4 separate regions of the Homo sapiens genome follow, and regions 1, 3 and 4 are each linked to region 2. The links are contacts of gene promoters, found by promoter capture Hi-C in blood cells and fetal thymus (Javierre and others, 2016). All regions are on one chromosome and are shown on one strand. The core of a region is centred on a gene start or on the middle of the fragment in contact, and the rest is flanking DNA. Distances in the headings are between cores, read along the strand shown. Region 1 has its middle 4.3 kb from the start of FICD. Region 2 holds the start of CORO1C (coronin 1C). Region 3 has its middle 11 kb from the start of SSH1. Region 4 overlaps SART3 (spliceosome associated factor 3, U4/U6 recycling protein).

Region 1 (3,528 bases), core at 740-3,239, 220 kb after region 2:
TTATGGGTGACAGTATGTTAGAAAACAGTGAAGCTCTGGGGTCAGACAGATGTGCGTTGAAATGCAAGGCCCACCGCTTGCTGGCTGGGTGACCTTGAACAAGTCACTTATCCTCACTGAGCTGGGTATTAAGGGACTAGTGGACCCCTGTCCACACCCAGGTATAAAGCAATGTAGTCCTCTGCTTCTAAAGGCACCCTCCTCTCTTTGTTAAGTCTTTAATTAGCTTAGGCTACGAGTAGTAAATCCAGAGGCTATGCAGGAACTGCTAATGAGCAAAGCTTCCTGGCCATGAGACAATAGGTAGAGGTGGGGAGTATGGCAGATTTGAGAGCACATGCCTTGTCTAAAGTGGGCAGCAGCTTCTCAGCTCGAACCCGTATTTATTAGCTGGGATGCAGTCTAAAAGTGGATAGAGTTTTCAATTTTTCAAAATAAATGTGAGGCCTAGATTTTTTAAGCAGTATCTCCAGATTTTAAGGCAGTTGGCATGGCTGCCGGCTGGCTTTCCAGGGCCGCCAGATTGTAACCCCTTTGTAGCCGGTAGTGGAAGATGGCAGGGGAACGCAGGAAGAAAAGACTCAAAGGACTATTACAGCAAAATGAGCCCATTACTGTGTCTGGCCACCAGGGGGCAGTAATTCACCTGACATCACTTCCCTCCTTCAATCTCCTTGTCAGGAGTTTACACTCAAAAAATTTTAACTCTCGACTTTGTCTGCATTCAGCTGTGTTGAATGCACAAAATATGGTCCCTGAAGCGATATTGAAAAGTTGGCTTTCTCCATCTTAAGCATTCTGTACTAGGTGAAAATTGCCTCCCCGTGGCCCACGGAGGAGTTTTCTAAACGCTTACCTTGACACATGACAAAGAACCCAGAAAGTGGCTGCATGGGAAATATGTCCATTATGCAAAACAAAACAAGACAAAAAACCCTTCTGCATGTTTAAGGAACAGCAGTCAAGCGCTTCTTGCTGGCAGAGTCGGATTCTATTGCTTAGGAAAAACAAAACTCCCCGGCTTGAGGCTACATGGCATTGAGTTGGCTGCAGAATGACTCAACTTCATTAAAAAGAAAATACACCACACCTGTTCTTGCTTCTTCATTTCTCTCATCTTTCCCCACCCCTGATTTTTTTTTCTCTGTCTAACTTAATGCTGTGGCTGAAAAAGAGAGCCCAGCAGCCCTTCTCCCTGCTACTGATTAATCCTCCTTTTAAAACATACCTGGTGGGGGCCAGGCGCGGTGGCTCACACCTGTAATCCCAGCACTTTGGGAGGCCGAGGCGGGCAGATCACGACGTCAGGCGATCGAGATCATCCAGGCTAACACAGTGAAACCCCGTCTCTACTAAAAATACAAAAAATTAGCCTGGCGTGGTGATGGGCGCCTGTAGTCCGAGCTACTCGGGAGGCTGAGGCAGGAGAATGGCGTGAACCCGGGAGGCGGAGCTTGCAGTGAGCTGAGATCGCACCACTGCACTCCAGCCTGGGCAACAGAGCGAGACTCCGTCTCAAAAAAAAAAAAAAAAAAGAAAAGACATACCTGGTGGGGTCAGACCCAGTTTCTGAGGCATCCCCAAGAAACAGGGCTTGGGGGACCCCATGTGAGTGTCCCTGGGCTAAAGGCTTGTGTTCTGGCCTCAGGATGTTTCTCATGTCGTATGGTCTCAAATCACCAATATTTCAAAACTCAGACATGCAGATGAGTGTTGTTTTCAAAGCAAATCATTTGGGGAAGTGGTACTTCTTACTTGGAAAAAATTAAACGTAACTGCTTTTCACCTGTTGAACAACTATTTTATTTCTTAAAAACAACATGAGATCATTACAGATATAGAATCCACAAAAAACAAGAAAAAAATACACATTCACAATTCTACTCCATATTTCTCTATGCACATTTATTTATTTTTGAGACAGGGTCTCACTCTGTCACCCAGGCTGGAGGGCAGTGGCACGATCTCGGCTCGCTGCAGCCTCAACCTCCTGGGCTTAAATGATCCTCCTGCCTCAGCCTCCCAAGTAGCTGGGACTATAGGTGTGTGCCACCACGACTGGCTAATTAAAAAAATTTTTTTTTTGTAGACACAGGGTCTCACTCTGTCACCCAGGCTGGAGTGCAGTGGCATGATCTCAGCTCACTACAGCCTCAACCTCCTGGGCTTAAGTGATCCTCCTGCCTCAGCCTCCCAAGTAGCTGGGACTACAGGTGCATGCCACCATGACTGGCTAATTTAAACAATTTTTTTTTTTTGTAGAGATGGGGTTTCACTATGTTGCCCAGTCTGGTCTTCAACCCCTGGGCTCAAGAAATCCTCCCACCTCAGCCTCCCAAAGTGCTGGGATTATAAGCATGAGCCGCCACAACTGGCCACATCTATTTTTAAATGATGAAATATTTCTGATATCCAAAAGACATCAACAGTGCAATGGGCGCTTGTATACCTGCCATCCAGTTTAAGAAATACCATGTCACCAATACACTGAAGCCCCATGGGCCTTCTCCCCTTCACATGCCCTTCCCTCCCTCCCAGAGGTCACTACCATGTTGAATTTGGTGCTGCTGCCTCCATGCATGGCTTTTTGCTTTTATCCACATGCATGTATCCATAAATAATATATAATGATGTTATGCAGATTTTTATGCATGATATATACCGTGTGGATCCTTCTGCATTTTGGGGCTCAGAATTATGTCTTAGAGATTTATGCTCATGCTGATATGCATAGTTCTGGTTCATTAATTTTACAGTGCTGTATAGTATTCCATTAACAATTTATTTCCCATTTACCTGTTGATGGGCATTTGGATTGTTTCCAATTTTTCCCTATCACAGACTGCAGTGAAATACTTGTATGATTTTTTGGCACATGTGTGGAAGTTTCTCTAGGACAAAGTTTCTCAAAGAATCATTTGGGGGGGTTTTGGAAAAACAACCACATGGGGCCTTGCTCCAGACCAACGAAATCCTCTAACTGCTCCTCTGATCCTACTGTATCTTAGCTACAAGTGGAAATAATCGTACCCACCATGCTATCTCATTTTTGGTAGTGGTGACAACTGAGCACTTACTGTGTGCTAAGTAATTTGTATGGTATTTGATTGAATTTTTGTAACAACGCCATGAACTAGATATTATTAAACCCACTTTATAGAAGGTGAAAATGAGGCTCAGATAAATTAAGTAATTAGTCTGAGGTCACACAGCAAGCAAGTGGCAGAGCCAGGGTTCACAACCAGTCTTCCTGACTCAAAACTGTGGTTTTGACGATTATGAGACCCTAGGCTTTCAGAGATCTCAGGTTACATTTTAGCTCCTCAGCTTTGGAGGTGGAAAAACTAAGGACAGAGCCAGAATACAAATCCAAGTCTCTAGATTCCCTACCCGTTAACATGTCCCCTTCTACTGTAAAAATGCTTTAAGGGTAGGGGAAGGAGCGAGGAGGAAAAATCTTCATAAAGTCATCTTCTCGAGACAATTTCTGACATCCACCCTATGTCTGTTATCCATTGCTGTGTAACA
Region 2 (3,602 bases), core at 257-2,756:
AAACCCATCCTTTCATTTTGTTGAGTCCCAGCAGTAGCAGCAACAGGTACTGTCGAGCGTTTATCACAAGCCAGGAACTCTTCTAAGTATATTACTATTATCCTGGTGCAAAAGTAATCGCGGTTTTTGCCATTCCTTTTAATGGCAAAAAGTAATGCCACGATCATGGCTGCTAATATGATCTCATGGAACCCTGTGAGGGAGGGGCTGTTATCCCCATTTTACAGATAAAGAAACTGACCCTTAGAGAGGATAAATAATTTGCTGTGATAGCTGTCTTAGTTCAGGTCAAGCTTGATTTAAATAACACACGTTTCTGAGGCTGACGCTTAAAATAAAAAATCCCCCTGTGAATGGCAAAGATGCCTTGCTTTGGGAAGTAAATAGCCCTACCCCACAGTCGGTTCGGTTCCCCAGGCTCTGTTTCCTCAAATCTCGGTATTTCAGAGCTTGGTGTTTCAGAAAGGGACTTTAGCTATTAACAGGACAACTTCTTCATGCTGAAGATTAGGGGACTCAGGCCCAAAGAGGTAAGAGAACTGTCCCAGGTCACACAGTCTGACGGCCGCAGAGCTGAGGCTCAAATTCCCGTGCTCCGACTTTCAGGCCTGGGCCGCCGAGTTATTAAGGGACTCTGGCCAGGGAAAGGAAGGGAGGAACCCTGAAGTTTCCATTCCCTCACCTGCGAAATGGGGTCAATCACGGGCCCTCTTTGGGGTTACGTGGGTGTGGCCCAGCCCAGGGGCGGCCACTCTGCACTAGGAATGTGACAATGGACGGTTCAGGGAGGGCTGGAACGTCGGCAGTCCTCAAGGGAGGTGGTGGTAGGGTGTGACGGAGCCAGGGCGGAGCCTCGGGAGCCAGAGGCGTGGATTCGCGAATTCGGGGCGGGGCTTGGGGTTTAAACGTTGAGATGGGGTAGTGGGCGGGGCTTGAGATGCTAGGAATAGGGTTGCGGTCCTTGGGCGGGGCTTCTGGAAGACGGGGCGGGGCTTTGTGAGGCCGCTGGGCGAGTTCTGAAGCAGTGGGAGGGGAGCCGGGCTTAGGGAAGCAGGAGGCTGGTTTAAGGACTCGGATAGGCAGTGCGCGGGGCTCAGAGGAGCTAATGTTCCTGTATTGAGGGGCTCTGGGGGAATCTTTGAGGAGCCAGGGGACGTGGCCTTGCAGAGCCTAGCGGGTCAGTGGGCGGGGCTCTAAGAACCCCGCTCCGGGGTCTAAGGAGCAGTGGGCGTTGCTCGGAGGCGCCTGTGGGCGTGGCCCTCTACCACTCAGATGACTGGAGAGCGGGGCGTGCGCTTGGGCACCGCCTGCATCCCTCGGTGCGACCAGAGGGGGCGTAGCGAGGCGTGGAACGTGGGGTGGGAAGCGGGCTTCCCCTCCGGAAGTGGGCGTGGCGCACAGCGGCCCGGCAGCCCTGGTTGGGTCCCGCGCGGCGCGGGGGCGGGGCCTACGCGCGGTGGCGGGGGCGGTGGCGGCTGCCCGCGCCCCTCCCCCGCACGGCGCTCAGTGCCAGGCTGGAGGCGGCAGCGGTTGGAGGCTTCGCCCGGCTTTGCAGCGGGGACTTCGGCGGCGGCGCCTCAGGCACCTCGGCCCGGGTGAGCGGCTCGCGCCCGGCGGGGGCAGCCTGAGAGCGAGTCGGGCGGGCGGACCTGTCCTCTGAGCATGTGCCTGCGCCGCCTGACAGGAGCCGGCGGGGCGAGGGGCAGGGCTAGGTGGAGGGGACAGTGCTGGGTGGGCGCGCGGGGCGCGGGTTCACGGGCTGGGTTGCAAGGGGTTAGGGCCGGGGGCTGCTGTCGGGGGCTCGGGGAAAGGGAGTTGGGGACCGAACCAGGTGGCGTGGGGAGCGTGAAGCAGGGTCCCTGTGGGGAGGAGGCTTTCGAGGTCCGGAACGCTCCTGGCCGGGTGCGGAGCCGCGGGCCGAGGTGGGACGAGGCTGCCCAGGGAAGGCTTTTAGGGGTCAGGGATCGCCTGCTTGGGCGAGGTGCTGGGAGGGAAGGGCTGCTTCGGGCGAGGCGTAGAGCCCGGGGGCTCCAGGCCTGGGGACTGGGTTTGGGCCGCCCCAGGGAACGAGTGGGTGGGGGCGGGTAGGGGCCGGGCTCACGTGGGGCCGGGGCGAGCTGGGCCCTGCGTCGGGAGGGGCGAGGGCGGCCGCCTGGCCTGCGGGTTTCCTGGCTTTGGGTGCGAGACCAGCTCTGGGCCCTGCAGATCTCGGTTGGGGGTCAGGCGGGGCGGGGCAGAGCTGGAGCTGGAGTAATGTGGGTGGGGGCGGCTTGGGAAGAGGCTGAGCCCGGCCAAGGGAGCAGAGGGCTGGGACTGGCTGGGGGTTGGGAGGGGAGGAACGAAGCAGGAAGGCTGTCGGATCGGGGGCCCAGGGTGTCCGAGTGAACTGGGTGATTCAGAGGTGTGTTTCCCTAATAGCGGGGCAGCTGGCGAGGGACGCAGTAAAAAGGAGCGAGGTGCAGGTGGGGCCCCGCTGCGCCGAAATGACTGAGGATGAGGTCAGACGTGGAGGGTGGGAATGCAGAAACCGAGCTCTCCCGCCTGTCCCCACCGGCGCACGCTCCCCAGCTCTCCGTCTCTCAAATGATTTGAATGTGTTGGGGGAAGTGGCAGGCTGCGGTGAGAGCTGAGAAGAAAGGGGCTTCCTCTTGGAGGGAGGCGCTGGCCCTGGCATCCTTTTTTGGGAGTGTTCAAAGGATTTTGAACGCTGGAAAAGGAATCGTAGGCTTTACTGCATCACGATTTAGAAACACATCCTATATTTGGCCGTAATGTAGGCTGCCCTTGTTTTGTGGTGTCTAAAGTGCTTGCTCTACATGTTGCAAACGTGGGATTCAGAGTGCGAAGCAAATTGCAAGTTGTTCATTTCCCCCGGCATGGTAAGATACAAAGGCTTTTCCCTCCTATAAGACATTTGAAAAGAATTGAATGTAGTGCGCGTTTAATAAACTGGTCCTGGGTGGCGAATATATTTACTTTTGGAAATAGTTACCACAAAATATTAGGCCCTCTTACCGCAGCCTTTCTGCCTGGGATTACATTCTAAAACAGTACTTGTAGGGCTCTTAGTCACTCTATATAATAATGCATCTCATTGTCCTTATCTGGCAGAACGTTCTCCTGACACCAGGGCCTGCTGGAATAGACAGAAACATGATTAAGTATAAGCAGTTGCTTTGTACCGTCTGTTCAGTTGTGAAGGCAAATAGATACCTGTTTAATATTAATTCACTTTCTGCATTCCCTGTAAAACTGAAGAAATGTGCAAAATCTATTTTGGACTTGGTTCTATACATTTCAGATGATTTAAGGAAACTAGTATTTTTGGTTTGGAGGTATGTTTCACAGTCATAATGTTTGGCTATGAAGCATAATAGTAAACATTGGATCTGAGAAATCGCATAAATAAGTAGGGAAAAAAGTGAAATAAAACTGAGAATTGTGTTGTACCTTAGGTCTTGAAGTGCAGTGTTTCGTGGTGGAGGTTAGTCGTGTGTACTGAGGATTGGACAAAGATTTGGTATAAACGTCAGGAGCACACATTTTTGACAAATATAGAACCTATCTTGTCCATATTTATTTTGATTACTTGTGGAAGGTAC
Region 3 (3,468 bases), core at 906-3,405, 140 kb before region 2:
TGTTTGTTTTTGTTTTTGTTTTTGTTTTGTTTTGTTTTTGAGATGGAATTTTGCTCTTGTTGCCCAGGCTGGAGTGCAGTGGCGCAGTCTTGGTTCACTGCAACCTCTGCCTTCCAGGTTCAAGGGATTCTCTTGCCTCAGTCTCCCAAGTAGCTGGGATTATACGCATGCAGCACCACACCCTGCTGATTTTGTGTTTTTAGTAGAGACAGGGTTTCACCATGTTGGCCAGGCTGGTCTTGAATTCCTGACCTCAGGTGATCCACCCACCTCGGCCTCCCAAAGTGCTGGGATTACAGGCATGAGCCACTGCGCCCGGTTTTTTTTTTTCTTCTTCTTTTTTTTTCTTTCTTTTTTTTTTTTTTTGAACTGGAGTCTCGCTCTGTAGCCCAGGCTGGAGTGTAGTAGTGTGAGCTTGGCTCACTGCAACCTCTGCCTCCCAGGTTCAAGTAATTCTCCTGGCTCAGCCTGCAGAGTAGCTGGGACTACAGGTGCACACCACTATGCCCAGCTAATTTTTATACTTTTAGTAGAGACAGGGTTTTACCATATTGGTCACACTGATCTAGAACTCCTGACCTCAGGTGATCCACTCACCTTGGCCTCCCAAAGTGCTGGGATTACAGGCATAAGCTGCTGCACCCGGCCCCATTCTGTTTTAATTTCTACAGCTTTGTCATATGTTTTAATATCTAGCAGAACAGATTCCTTCCCTTTAATCTTCTTTTTCCTAGTTTGCAGGTCTCTTCTCCCACGGTTACTTTTCTGGGGTGGTTTAGTGATTAAGACCAGGGACTCTGGAGTCAGGCAGACTGGGCTGGTGCCCCAGCTCCACCTTTCCTATCCATGTGTCCTTGGGCTGGTACTTAGGGAAACCAGGGCACAGTGGGGAGGCCATGTGGCAGGAGGCCCAAGGGCACACATGTAAATATCAAACATGCTTGATGTCATCTCACCTCCACGGTTTCCAGGATCTCAGACAAGTCCCCTCTTGAAACCTCCTAAGTAAAATGGGAAGGGGAACAGGTAATAGCAGTACTTTACTCTCAGAAAAATTAAATAAAGAGGGACTTTCTCCTATGGTGGAATTAAGATGAAACAGTGACTGTCACGTGATGCAACGCACATATATACCCAATAAATGTTAGCTTGTCCAGTTATCTGTTGTAAAGATCCCTACACTCAAAAGAATCAAGTTGGGATTTCAATAGCATTTCCATTTAATTTAATTTCGAGAGGTTGTTAACTCTACCATACTGAGTCTTCCCATCCAAAAACAAAGCTTCTCCATCTCTCCATTGATGCCCTCTTTTTTTTCCCCTTTTGGTAGAGTTTTTTAACTCTTCACATTTTTCTTTCAAAAATGGGGTCTACTGTCCTACGCTGTTTGGTGGCCTGCTTTTCTTTTCTTCCACTTAATATTTTATAAAAATCTTTCTGTACTAGTGCATGGTTTTATAATATTTTTATGGCAGCATATAAAAGTTATCTATTGCTGCATAACAAGTTACCTTAAAATTTAGCAGCTTAAAACAATAAACATTTATTATCTCATACATTTTCTTTGGGCCTGGAATCTGGAAGCAGCTCAGCTGGGCAGCTCTGGCTCAGAGTGTCTCATGAGGTTGCACTCCAGATGTTGGCCATGGCTGTGATCTCATCTGAAGGCTTGAATGGGGGGCCTGGCACAATGGCTCTTGCCTGTAATCTCAGCACTTTGGGGGTCCGAGATAGGCAGATCACTGGAGGCCAGGAGTTTGAGACCAGCCTGGGCAACATGGCGAAACCCTGTCTCTACTAAAAATACAAAAAAACTAGCTGGGCATGGTAGCGCACGCCTGTAATCCCAGCTACTCGGGAGGCTGAAGAATGAGAATCGCTTGAACCCAGGAGGCAGAGGTTACAGCGAGCCAAGATGGTGCCACTGTACTCCAGCCTGGGAGACAGAATGAGACCCGGTCTCAATTAATAAGTAAATAAATAAATAAAGGCCTGACTGGGGCTGGAGGATCCATTTTCAAGGTGGTGCATTCACATGACAATAGGTTAGTGCTGGTCATTGGCAGGAGACCTCAGTTTCTTGCCATGCGGCCCTCTCTCTTTGGCTGCTTAAATGTCCTAAATGTCCCCATGACATGGTAGCTGGATTCCCCCAGAATGAGAAATCCAAGAGACAGCAAGACAGCAGCTTCAGTGTCTTTTATGACCCCTAGCCTCAGAAGCCACATGCTGTAGTATCTGTGATATCCTAGTGGTTACACAGGTCAGTTCTATGTATTGTGTGAAGAGACTCCACAGGGCATGAATATCAGGAGATGAGGACCACTGAGAGCTATCTAGGAGGGATATCACATGCATATACCCAATTGATCTAACCAATGCTTTCTTATAGGACATTAATCATTCCATATTAAGAGTTGAGATTCTTTTGTTTGTTTTTTGAGACAGAGTCTCACTCCGTCACCCAGGCTGGAGTGCAGTGGTGTGATCTTGGCTCATTGCAACCTCCATCTCCTGGATTCAAGTGATTCTTGTGCATCAGCCTCCTGAGTAGCTGGGACTACAGGTGCATGCCACCATGCCTGGCTAATTTTTGTATTTTTAGTAGAGACAGGTTTTTGCCATGTTGGCCAGGCTGGTCTCTAACTCGTGGCCTCAAGTGATTCACCCACCTTGGCCTCCCAGTGCTGGGATTACCAGCATGGGCCACCGCACCCCACCAAGAGTTGAGATTCTGAGGCCCAGCAAGGGTCAGTGTGTTGCTTGTGATCATAGTGAATAAAAGGCAAATTCAGGTGAATACACCCCTGGCAGAGGCCAGGGAACACCTTGATCTGGCAAGCAGGTTAAATGAAGGGATGGGTAGAGGAAGGGAGGCTTCAGCCAACTCCGCACAGGGGCAGAGATCCCTCAACTGCCTGGCTGCTGGTGCCTATTGACCCACCCAGAGAGATGCTTTGTCAGAAGCCCCAGATACCTGACTTCCATATCTAACACTGGACACCCTGGCCCAGGTGGCAGAAGCTTTGAGTCCTCTGAACACCGTTCCCTGCAAATAGTGGAACATCCAAACTGTCACCTCCCAGGCTAGAAAGGCCAACAACCCATGTATGTGGTCTGGGGTCTAGTTGGCCTGGGTTCAAACCCTAGCCTTGCTCTGAGCCTCATTTTCTGCAGCTGATGAAATGATCATGTTAGATGCGTTCCTTTCCTGTGGCTGCTGTAACAAAGTGCCACAAACTGGGAGGCTTAAACCACAGGCATTTACTCTCACAGTTCTGGAGCCTGGAACTCTGAAATCGAGTTGCTGGTTTCTTCAGAAGGCCACGCAAATCTGCTCCTCACTTCTCACTCCTAGCTCTGGTGGTTTGCTGACCATCTCGGGTGCTCTTTGGCTTGTGGCAGCACAACTACAACCTTCAGGAAGCATTTTCCCCTTGGCTCTGGGTCCAAATTTCCCCTTTTATT
Region 4 (3,655 bases), core at 262-2,761, 190 kb after region 2:
AGGGTGCAGTGAGCCGTGATCATGCCTCTGCACGCTAGCCTGGGCGACAGAACGAGACTGTGTCTCAACAAACAAACAATTTCCCCTTTCAGATTTCGTACCCTCTTCCTTGTTGATTTCCCAATGGGAGCAGTCCCCCTGTGAGAAGCATTGCTACTAACCAGATAGACTGTTCTGAGATGATAGAGAATTTTTTGTGTATCTTTACAAGCCAAGAAGAATTCACAGTTTTTTGGTTTATAATCTGAATAATGAAAATAAGCGGTGTTTTATGAATATAAAACTATATTATATGTGTGTTTTTTTTTTTTTTTTTGAGAGAGAGTCTTACTCTTTCGCTTAGGCTGGAGTGCAGTGGTGTGATCTCGGCTCACTGCAACCTCCCCCCTACCCAGGTTCAAGCGATTCTCCTGCCTCAGCCTCCTGAGTAGCTGGGACTACAGGTGCCTGCCACAACGCCTGGCTAATTTTTCTATTTTTAGTAGAGACGGGGTTTCACCATATTGGCCAGGCTGGTTTCGATCTCCTGACCTTGTGGTCCTCCCACGTCAGTCTCCCAAAGTGCTGGGATTACAGGCGTGAGCCACCGCACCTGGCCAAATGTGTTTTTAAAAACTATACCTGTATCTCTGCTCTGTGGCCCATGAGTCTTCTTTTAGAGCCACTGATAATTTTAGCAGTGCATGGTGTTCCCATGATTTCTGATGATCCTGTTACCCCCTTCTTACTCTCTCACAGGCATTGTTAATAGCACCATTTATCTTTTTCTGAGGATCTATGGTCTTCCCCAGACTGTAATGTTTTTTAGTCCTTTATGGTCATCTCTGCTGTTAGGCCTTCACTGTCATTTAGTGCTGCTGTCTGAGTACTTTTTTGGTAGGCACATTTCGTTTGTTATGCATCAGTTTTGATATTTGGGTATTTTATATCCCAAACTAATTGAACACTTCTTATTTTTAGGTCCTAACATTTGGCTAGAGTATGGCCAGTACTCAGTTGGTGGGATTGGTCAGAAAGGTGGCCTTGAGAAAGTTCGCTCCGTGTTTGAAAGGGCTCTCTCGTCTGTTGGTTTACATATGACCAAAGGACTCGCCCTCTGGGAGGCTTACCGAGAGTTTGAAAGTGCGATTGTGGAAGCTGCTCGGGTGAGTACCTGTGGTTGTCTCTGAACGGGTTGGGGCTGTCTTTGTAAGTCTCCTTGGAAGGATTATTTTGAAACACATGTCCATGATGAATCTTGCAGTTCATATAGTTAACAAAATGGTCTTTGCCAATCCCTTAGTGGTGGGGTGATAGATAACCTTTTTTTATACCCCTTCTAGCATTTGGTACAATATGTATGGAAGAGGTCGTATAAATTTTTTTAGCTTGAACTGAAAATTTGTTGAGATATTTTTTGAAGTAGAAAGAACCAGAGTTGGCCAAGTGCGGTGGCTCATGCTTGTAATTCCAGCAGTTTGGGAGGCTGAGGCCAGAGGATCACTTGAGTTCAGGAGTACAAGACCAGCCTGGGCAATGTAGTGAGTCCCCATCTCTACAAGAACTAAAACATTAGCTGGGCATGATGGCGTATGCCTGTGGTCCTAGCTACTCAGGACTCTGAGGTGGGAGGATTGCATGAGCCTGGAGTGTGAGGCTGTAGTGAGTTGTGATCACACCACCACACTCCAGCCAGGGTGACAGCAAGAACCCTTCTCAAAAGAAAAAGAAAGAACCACAGTTTGTCATTTACTACTAATTTGCTTCTTTAGCCCGTAGCTGGCTTCCTTTCCCCTTTTGACCGGGAACAAACCTTTGATTCACAGCTTGAGAAAGTCCACAGTCTTTTCCGGCGACAGTTGGCGATCCCACTCTATGGTAAGAGAAACTGACATGTCAACAGCCAGCCCTCTATGGTTTTTAAAATGCTTTGGGGAACAACATGTAGTTAGACCTTTCCCACCATCCTGTGAGGCAGGTAAAGCTGGTGTTCTTACTCTCCTTGGATATTGTCTCTTTGGATGAGGTCCTTGGTAAAAACATCTTGAATGTTAGTGCTTAAGAGGGTTGTGAGGGTCAGAGGCAGGACTGGAAGCCAGACTCCCTGACTCCCAGGTGAGAGCTCTTTTCTCCTTTGAGACCTAGTTGGAAGGGCAGAGATAGGGTCTCTGAAAGGAATAGTGAATGACACCTGTATTTTTTGGGGAAACTTCATTGAACAAGAGTTCCATTATAATCATTTTCTCTTCACAAGTAACCTCTTCCATAACAGCAGGAATTTTACATGAGTTTAGATCATTCCTCTATGGGAGGGATTTGGTTCAGAAGTGCAGTTGATTGGAAGTACTCATAAGTGAGTTTCTTGGGGTTTGGTAAAGAGTTTCCTTATTTGGTAAATACATTTTGGCAATCTAAGCCTTTGAGTCTTTGGAGCTATGAGTGTGTGCGTGCTGGGAGGATTTTTCTGAGTATGGGAAGAGTTTGTCATGGCTGTTGTGTTTGTTCCCTAGACACGGGCATGTGTTGTACATACTCAGAACCTCTGGGCAACTTTACTGGAGCCCACATGTTATTTCTCTTCATGGTTTATTGGATTTAACAAGTTATAAAGTAGTCGTCTAATCAAATGGTTGGGTATCATGCAGAAAACACTAGAGCTGAGCCGGCTTGCAGATTTCACCTACCAGCGTGAAACAACCTAGCATAATGATTAGAGTGCGAACTTGAGCCAGACTGCTTGGGTTCACAGCCTTGCTCTACCATTAACTGTAGACGAGCAACTGAACCCTCTGCTTCAGTTTCCTCAACTGCAAAATGAGGATCACAATAGACTACCTTGTAGAGTGGGATGACTGAATGAGTTAGTGGATGTGAAGTGGTAGAACATAGGTAACACTGGGTAAGTGTTGTTAAATCGTTGCCACTAGTGTCATTGACTGATTAATTAGCTGGGAGGGTTGCCTGGGACATTGTTTTAAGACAGATTCTACAGACAGGTTTGGGCTCAGCAGAAATCAGAATTTGATCAGTAAGAGCTGCCATGCCACAGATGTGGGAGGGGCTAGTGGCACCTGAGTCTCATGGCTTAATCTGTGTTTGGGTTGATAAAGCCCAATGGCAAGACCCACGGGGCTGAATCCATCTTTCAATAGATATGGAGGCCACATTTGCAGAGTATGAAGAATGGTCAGAAGACCCAATACCAGAGTCAGTAATTCAGAACTATAACAAAGCACTACAGCAGCTGGAGAAATATAAACCCTATGAAGAAGCACTGGTAAGTGTTGGCTTCTTTTATAGTAAACGTCTCTCTACAAACCTTTCCCTGATGGATAGTTGCGAGTTAAACAGTATCTTTAAAATGTTTTATTCTGAAATATATAGAGTGTATAAATGTATACGTACAGTTTACATACTAATAATAAAGTGAACATCCATGTACCTACCACCCAGGTTAAGAAATAGAACATTGCCAGTACCTTAGAAGTCTCCTATGTGCCCCTCTCCGATTGCCTCCTCCTCCCTCTCCCGAGAGGTAATCACTTTCCTGACTTTTGTGATGATAATTCCCTTGCTTTTCTTTATAGTTTTACAAGCTATGAAAGTATCCTTAATTAATATATTGTTTAATTTTGCTTGCTTTTGAACTTTTATATATTGGAATCATGCTGTATAT

What was found. Contacts are between HindIII fragments. The CHiCAGO score rates a contact against its expected background, and 5 or more counts as called.
Region 1: a contact is called between a fragment that was not itself captured here and the fragment with the promoter of CORO1C in region 2, in 2 of 17 cell types (fetal thymus and neutrophils). The highest score is 6.9, in fetal thymus.
Region 3: a contact is called between a fragment that was not itself captured here and the fragment with the promoter of CORO1C in region 2, in 1 of 17 cell types (monocytes). The highest score is 5.7, in monocytes.
Region 4: a fragment that was not itself captured here is called in contact with the fragment with the promoter of CORO1C in region 2 in 1 of 17 cell types (neutrophils); the score reaches 5.7 in neutrophils.

Annotation. Positions count from the first base shown.
Region 1 is chr12:108,509,231-108,512,758 of GRCh38, reverse strand. No RefSeq gene overlaps it. Among named protein-coding and RNA genes, the nearest start is that of FICD, 4.3 kb to the left of the region's middle. The HindIII fragment of the contact is 3,412 bases long and covers 284-3,528 here.
Region 2 is chr12:108,729,422-108,733,023 of GRCh38, reverse strand. It overlaps CORO1C (coronin 1C), which reads left to right and starts at 1,506. Exons shown (of 11, transcript NM_014325.4): 1 at 1,506-1,595. RefSeq lists an enhancer at 832-1,635 and silencers at 1,248-1,757, 1,948-2,227. The HindIII fragment of the contact is 3,828 bases long and covers 296-3,602 here.
Region 3 is chr12:108,866,610-108,870,077 of GRCh38, reverse strand. No RefSeq gene overlaps it. Among named protein-coding and RNA genes, the nearest start is that of SSH1, 11 kb to the right of the region's middle. The HindIII fragment of the contact is 1,742 bases long and covers 1,285-3,026 here.
Region 4 is chr12:108,542,629-108,546,283 of GRCh38, reverse strand. It overlaps SART3 (spliceosome associated factor 3, U4/U6 recycling protein), which reads left to right. Exons shown (of 19, transcript NM_014706.4): 4 at 961-1,145; 5 at 1,806-1,857; 6 at 3,132-3,256. Among named protein-coding and RNA genes, the nearest start is that of SART3, 17 kb to the left of the region's middle. The HindIII fragment of the contact is 8,616 bases long and covers 1-3,655 here.